2 separate regions of the Homo sapiens genome follow, and region 2 is linked to region 1. Evidence: promoter capture Hi-C in 16 types of primary human blood cells and fetal thymus (Javierre and others, 2016). All regions are on one chromosome and are shown on one strand. The core of a region is centred on a gene start or on the middle of the fragment in contact, and the rest is flanking DNA. Distances in the headings are between cores, read along the strand shown. Region 1 holds the start of XPO5 (exportin 5). Region 2 overlaps UBR2 (ubiquitin protein ligase E3 component n-recognin 2).

Region 1 (3,488 bases), core at 427-2,926:
ATGATTTAAATACGAGAAACACAGGTTATACAGTTGAGTGAGCACCCAACTGTATTCTAAAAAAAGTTTTTCAAAAACTAACATTCACCTTGAAAAAAAAAACGTCTTACAACTGCAAAGCAGGAAGGTGAGTGGAAAGAAAAATAATTAAAATCAGAGCAGTCAAAGCATTAATTCCTTATAAATTCCAATCGACCACGCCTAAAACAGGCAGAATGTGATACTTTAAACATTTACAAGTTAAAACTATAACATGCCAGAAGTCCCTCTACTTTGAAGTGGCTTTTCAGTAGTACTGGAACAGACTGAGCCAACAAATAGTATTGTAACACAAAAAAACACAGGCTAAGCACCATATTAGATCCAAATACCAGAAGTGGAGCAAGAATAGGAAGCAGTGATTTATGTTCAGCACACAATTTACTAAGCACACAATCACAAAAACAGACATGCAGACTTTAACAGATAATAAAGCTGTTGAGGTTTTCCGTTTATGTATTTACTGGAGAAAGCAAGAGCTTTATTTATTTATTTTTGAGACGGAGTTTCGCTCTGTCGCCCAGGCTGGAGTGCAAAGGCGCGATCTCGGCTCACTGAACCTCCGCCTCCCGGGTTCAAGCGATTCTCCCACCTCAGCCTCCCGAGTAGCTGGGATTACAGGCGCGCACCGCCACGCCTGTATAAAAATACTAAAAATGCAAACATAATTTTTGTATGTTTAGTAGAAACGGGGTTTCACCATGTTGGTGAGGCTGGTCTCGAACTCCTGACCTCAGGTGATCCGCCCGCCTCCGCCTCCCAAAGTGCTGGGATTACAGGCGTGAGCCACCGCGCCCGGCCAAGAGCTTTATAAAGATGGAAAATGAAGAAGACTTTCTGCCCAAGCCATGCTTTTGGATAAGGATTACACTACTTTGAAACCTTATACATAGCACTTGGCCAATTATCAAAACTGCACAAACCTTCACTGATTGCAATTATTCCCTTTAAACATCTCGAGTTACCCCAATCCGCACAAAACAAGTTTAGTGCCCACCAGGTAATAATACATCCAGGAAAGTAATTCCAAGAGAGAGGTTTAACAACTACAGGGAAAAACATACTTTTTTCTACAAGAAAAATCTTAGAAGACAGTACCAGGGCCTTATCCCTGTTAGCATGATTTATATTTCACGCAACCTTGGCCCAGTCACTGCTACATTATAAAACCAATAGCCAAGGCAACATAGAAAGTCTGAACACAGTGACAGCGAACGGTTCTAAATTTTCTTACCAAGGTAACAAACACCTGGCAAAACTGCCAGCAGCGGTTGCCGAAAATGCTGGGTTCGGTGCCTACTGGAAGGAAAATGGAAGGGCTCCTGAATATCTTTTCGCCTTTCTAGGAGCGGTCCAGTGAGTTTCGAGCGAGATTTATTCCCTGTGACGACGGAGAAACCGAGAAGGGATCGTAAAGGATCCTGCCCGGGCAACCGTCCCCAGCAGGGATCAGACGAGAGCGGCGCGCCCAGCAATGCAGCCGCCAGACTGAGGTCTGACAGCGCGCCCGCTGCGAAGGGCCGTTGACGCGGCTGCGCACCGCGGCCCTTCCGCCTCCCGCCCCGCCCACCTAGGCTCAACCTGCACACGGGAGCCGCCACTTCCGCGGGCGCGTGCGCAGTGGCGGGCCGGGCGCGTGCGCAGCGCCGGCTTCTTCCCAGCGCGAGTTGCTGCTAACGCTCCTCCTCCAGCTTCCCACCCCCGCCGCCCGCCGCGGCCCGGTACCAACGGGTGGTCTCGCCGAGGGAGCTGTCGTGCCTCGTGGTCCCGGGACTGCAGTGGTGTGCGCTCTCGGCGCGTGGCGCTAGGCATGGCGATGGATCAAGTAAACGCGCTGTGCGAGCAGCTGGTGAAAGCGGTGACGGTCATGATGGACCCCAACTCCACCCAGCGCTACCGGCTGGAAGCCCTCAAGGTAGCTGGGGTCCTGGCGTCCTGGGCCGGTCCCGACACCCTCTCCCAGCCCCAGCAGCTCCGGCGCCGCCTGTAACTGGGGTAGTCTCCCGCCCACGCGGCCCCTGGACCTCCTTTCCCAACTCCCCGGGACCTTCCCCTCGCGGCCCTCCGCGCCTCTCCCAAATCGCCGCCTTCTCTACTCGCCGCTCCTGTCCTTTGCCTGGGACACTCCGGTCCCTATGCTGCTTCTCATCTCGCCGCAGCTTCCCACAGCCCTCTCCTCCCCCTTTCCTCGCTTCTGTGCACTCTTGTCCGCAACATGACCCTCGCCCATTTTCATTCCCCAAGCCCGACATCCCCTCGCCTTCCCGAGGCGCACGTGTAGATCCCGCCCCCAACACCAGCTTCGTTCTTTATGGTCTCTCCTGCACTAAACGTTTTCCTGCTGGCCCACTCCCCTGGCCCTGACCGAGCTCCAGCCCCTCTGGTACCCTTATGCTTATATGCTTTAACATCTCGCTAACTTTCGTTTGTGTCTTGGACATTTTCCGGGGAAATTCTCGCACCCCTACTTCTCCCATGTTTTTGAGTGTAATATTTTTAGGCTATTTTGCGCAAAGATAACTTCTACCACTTACTTTGCATTTTAACAAGGGCACTTTGGTTTCCTGAAAGTAGTTTGCGTGAGACCCGAATGCTCTGCTCTTGGGACTGACTTATGTTGCAGTTTGGGGGTGTTAATACAATTCAAGCTTACTTGCCCATAAAACAACGTGTGTGGGCTGTGAGAAATGGCCATTTAGGAGAAAATACTTGTGCTGTACATTTTTAAAGTGATGTTAACTTCAAAAAAGAGAGTGACCACCACTTGGAGGAAATGTTACAATATGTAGATGTCTGCCACAGGGTTTGGAATCAGAAACAATTGGGTTCCATTAGTTTGGTTTTTATTATTAATATTTAAAATAGACACAAAAGTGGAGAGAATACGACAGTGATTCTGCATGTTCCTGTCACCTAAATTCAGCAATCAAAGATTTTACCGCATTTACTTTTTCCACCGCCTATCCTCTCTCCCTGCCTCGAAGGTTTTTAAAAGAAACCCTAGAAATTGTTATTTCACCCCTATGTACGTCAGGGGGATGTCTCTAACAAATAATTTCTTATTCCTTTGTGTCCATTTTTTTCCAACACTAGTAGGGCTACTGTTGGCCGTAGCATGGAAAAAATCTGGAACCATCACGCTGGAAGGAATGTTTATCAGTTCTTTATTCATAATATATATATAATATATACACATAAAATAGAGTGAACACCACTTGGAGGAAATGTTATATATGTGTAACTTTTATATATTTTATATTTTTATTTTTATATTAAATATATATTTTTAAAGCAACTGTGCTTGGAGATCCACATAATATTGATCTAGGTTTTGCAACTTTAAACATATAGCTTAGGTTGGAGTTTCTTTTTGAGTAGGGTCTCACTCTGGTTGTCCAGGCTGGCGTGCAGTGGTGAGATCTCGGCTCACTTCAGCCTTGATTTCTCGA
Region 2 (3,488 bases), core at 475-2,974, 1.0 Mb after region 1:
AATCTATGGCAATTTGAACATCAGAATTACTGTAACTAAAAAATATCAAGAAAAGCAAGAAAGTGATTATTGCAAGAGTCAAGATGTCAGTTAATTATGGGGGAAGGAAGAAAGCACACAGTGGGCTTCAAGAATGCTGGTGACAATTTTTTTTGATCAAGAATAATTACAAAAATGTTTGCTTTAATTATTTATTAAATAGCATGTATTTGTAATACAGATTTTTAAGCAGATATGGTATTTCATAATTTTTAAACAAAAACTCAAAAGTTCCAGGGAAAAAAAGAGGTCAAATAAAACAAGAGCCTCCTAGAAAGAAAATTAAAATATTTTACCTGCAAGAATATGTAGGCTCTCCTACTTTAAAAACACGACCACAAAGATGAGAAGGTTTGTTTGCTTGCTCAAGTTTTGGAAATCCAAATGCAGGATCTTCACCACAAAGGTACCATTCCATTGGTCCCAACAAAACATGCTGTGCCAGCATGTCTTCTTTCTGTGGAAAAGGGTTGGGACCCCTGCAGTAGATTTTGGGTACATAGTGGGCTAAATGCTGGTACACTTCTCTAGTGAGGTCAGTTGCTTGCAGCCATTTCTTTAAAAGAAGAAAAGAGAAGAAATGGTTTTAAACACCAACAAACTAATTTGAACAAATTCACCCTACTTTCTTTTAGGTACAAAAATAATGACAAAAGCATATTAAAATATTTTGTTTACAACACTCACCACCGTACGTTAGAAATTTAATCTATTAAAATGCCAAGTATGTTTAAATCCTACTTTTAAGTGTAAGTAAAATTAAAATGAAACAAGCCTCCCTCCTTCCCTGCAAAATGACTCTTGAAGCAATCTTCTCTAGGCAGTACCAGAAAATAATTACAAGAAATCATTATATAAGATATGAACCATTGAGCTCACCTAATGTCCTTCCTAATGCTTTGCTCAAATGTTATTCTCATTGTGATATCAATTCTCACGTCAGTTTGTCCATAGGAAGAGTGTACGGTGAATATGAACAGCCAATATGTACGGTGAACATGAACAGCCAATACACATTTCTTAATGATTGATAAGCAAGTTTATATACCAGTCTCTTATTGAATAAGTCAGTCCACAAGAGACTGTTGTACCAATTATGCCTTCTTTCTCTGATCAACTTCTCTCTCTCTATAAGGCCTTTTCCGTTTGCTCTCCCCACTAAAAACAAATTTTAAAGCATGATTCTACTTAGATCTCATAGGTACCAACTCAATAACTGAATGCATGATCTCCCCTCCATGCTCCACCAAAATCTGTTATTTTCTCCATTTCCAGCTCAACCTGGGTATCCACACCGAAAAATCTGAAAAGCTTCCCAGCACTTTGGGAGGCCAGGCCAAGCAGATCACCTGAGGTCAGGAGTTCAAGACCAGCCTGGCCAACATGGTGAAGTCTCTTCTCTACTAAAAATATAAAAATTAGCTGGATGTGGTGGCGCATGCCTGTAATCACAGTTACTCAAGAGGCTGAGGCAGGAGAAATCGCTTAAACCCAGGAGGCAGAGGTTGTAGTGAGCCAAGATCCAGCCTGGGCGACAGAGCAAGAGTCTGTCTCAAAGGACAAAAAAAAAAAAAGACTCACTTCTGCTAGAATGCAGTTAACTGAACCGTGAACAAAACCCACAGATGGAGGGAAAGAGGAAGGGGAAGTGAGTTGAAAAACTACCTATTGGGTACTATGCTCACTACCCAGGTGCAATATACTCATGTAACAAACCTGCACATGTATTCCTTAAATCTAAAGTAAAAGCTGAAATTAAAAAAAACCTCCAATGTTTACCTATGGATTACTACCTAATTCCAGTTACATTTTTATTTAAAAAAAAAAAAAAAGTATGTTCAAGTGATATGTAACATCATAAGAAGTCAACATAAGGTCTTCATTTTAGCTATTACTTGTATATTCTTCAGACCACTCCTTCTAAAAACAACATACAGAGAGATTTTAAATATGCATGAGGTGATGTATATTAACTTTCTAGTCAATTTCTGTTTTCAGAGAACTTTTACTAAAAATGTAAAAATTTTGTTCATAAGTTAAGGGACTGGATAGAAGCTTATAACCAAAAACGGTGAAAGAGTTTTCATGCTTAAAGTGAAACTAAACTATTTTCCAAATATTACTAACATTGTTGTGTTTACATTATGCAAGTAGGAAAGAGACTAAATTACTTTCAAAACAACAGCATTTCTTCCCTGGTGGCCAAGTGGTTAGGGAAAAAAAAATAAAAATAAAAATAAAACAGCAGCAGCAGCATCATTTCTTAGGAGACAATCCTACAGGCTTTAAGTATTCTCTCCCTTCAGAGTGACTCAATCAAAATTTTATATATACATACACATCCTTTAAGCTCAGTAATTATAAAGAGGACAAGTTTTAAAAAAAGAAAAAGAGTCCTCAACAAGCATACTAGAATCTTATTCTTTGAGCTAAAAGACCTCGTTTTGGCCTCATTCAAAGGTAAATGTCTCATTTTTCACCCATTGTCAGCAAACCAAAACAAGAATGAAGGTAGTCAAATGATCCTAAGCGCTTTTTTTTTTTTTTTTTTTTGAGTCTCGTGCTGTCGCCCAGGCTGGAGTGCAGTGGTACGATCTCGGCTCACTGCAACCTCTGCCTCCCAGGTTCAAGTGATTCTCCTGCCTCAGCCTCCTGAGTAGCTGGGGTTACAGGTGTGCACCACCACACGCGGCTAATTTTTGTATTTTTAGTAGAGACAAGGTTTCACTATGTTGACCAGGCTTGTCTCAAACTCCTGACATCAGGTGATCTGCCCACCTCGGCCTCCCAAAGGTGCTAGGATTCAATTTACTCTTTATGAAAGAAAAATTAAGCAATAAGACCAAAATAATTCACCTCCATGATCCTAGAAAGTTAAGTGCTTCGGACTTTTTTTTACAACATATTGAAAGATTTTATTTAAAAACCAGTTTTTTTCCTTATATTTTATGTTCCCATTCCTGTAAAACTTCACTGTTGCAAAATTTTAATACAAGAATGAAAGGTTACTTTAGAAGGGATGCTTTTTTTTTTTTTTTTTTTTTTTTGAGACGGAGTCTTGCTCTGTCACCCAGGCTGGAGTGCAGTGGCGCGATCTCGGCTCACTGAAAGCTCCGCCTCCCAGGTTCACGCCATTCTCCTGCCTCAGCCTCCCAAGTAGCTGGGACTACAGGCTAGCATGGATGCTTTCTAAAAAAAAATTATGCAGTCTAGTAACTGTAACGAGAGCAAATTTGTTCATAGATTTCTTCAACAAAAATTCAGACGCTAGTATCAGCTTCTGGTTAAGAAAAAAAAAAAAAATCGGCCAGGCTCTTTGGCTCATGCCTGTAATCCCAGCACTTGGGAGGCCAAGGCGGGTGGCTCATTTGAGTTCAGAGGTTCGAGTCTAGCTTGGGCAATATGGCAAAACCCTGTCTCTTCTAAAAATAAAAGAAGATTAGCTGGGC

Evidence for each region. Contacts are between HindIII fragments. The CHiCAGO score rates a contact against its expected background, and 5 or more counts as called.
Region 2: a fragment that was not itself captured here is called in contact with the fragment with the promoter of XPO5 in region 1 in 1 of 17 cell types (total B cells); the score reaches 5.5 in total B cells.

The regions. Positions count from the first base shown.
Region 1 is chr6:43,574,226-43,577,713 of GRCh38, reverse strand. XPO5 (exportin 5) reads left to right here and starts at 1,676. Exons shown (of 32, transcript NM_020750.3): 1 at 1,676-1,954. The coding sequence starts at 1,850. It overlaps POLH (DNA polymerase eta), which reads right to left and starts at 1,529. Exons shown (of 11, transcript NM_006502.3): 1 at 1,274-1,529. RefSeq lists an enhancer at 1,260-1,509 and a silencer at 1,530-1,729. The HindIII fragment of the contact is 3,950 bases long and covers 1-2,689 here.
Region 2 is chr6:42,570,841-42,574,328 of GRCh38, reverse strand. UBR2 (ubiquitin protein ligase E3 component n-recognin 2) reads right to left here. Exons shown (of 47, transcript NM_001363705.2): 2 at 336-595. Among named protein-coding and RNA genes, the nearest start is that of UBR2, 8.6 kb to the right of the region's middle. RefSeq lists enhancers at 1,370-1,419, 1,510-1,569. The HindIII fragment of the contact is 744 bases long and covers 1,353-2,096 here.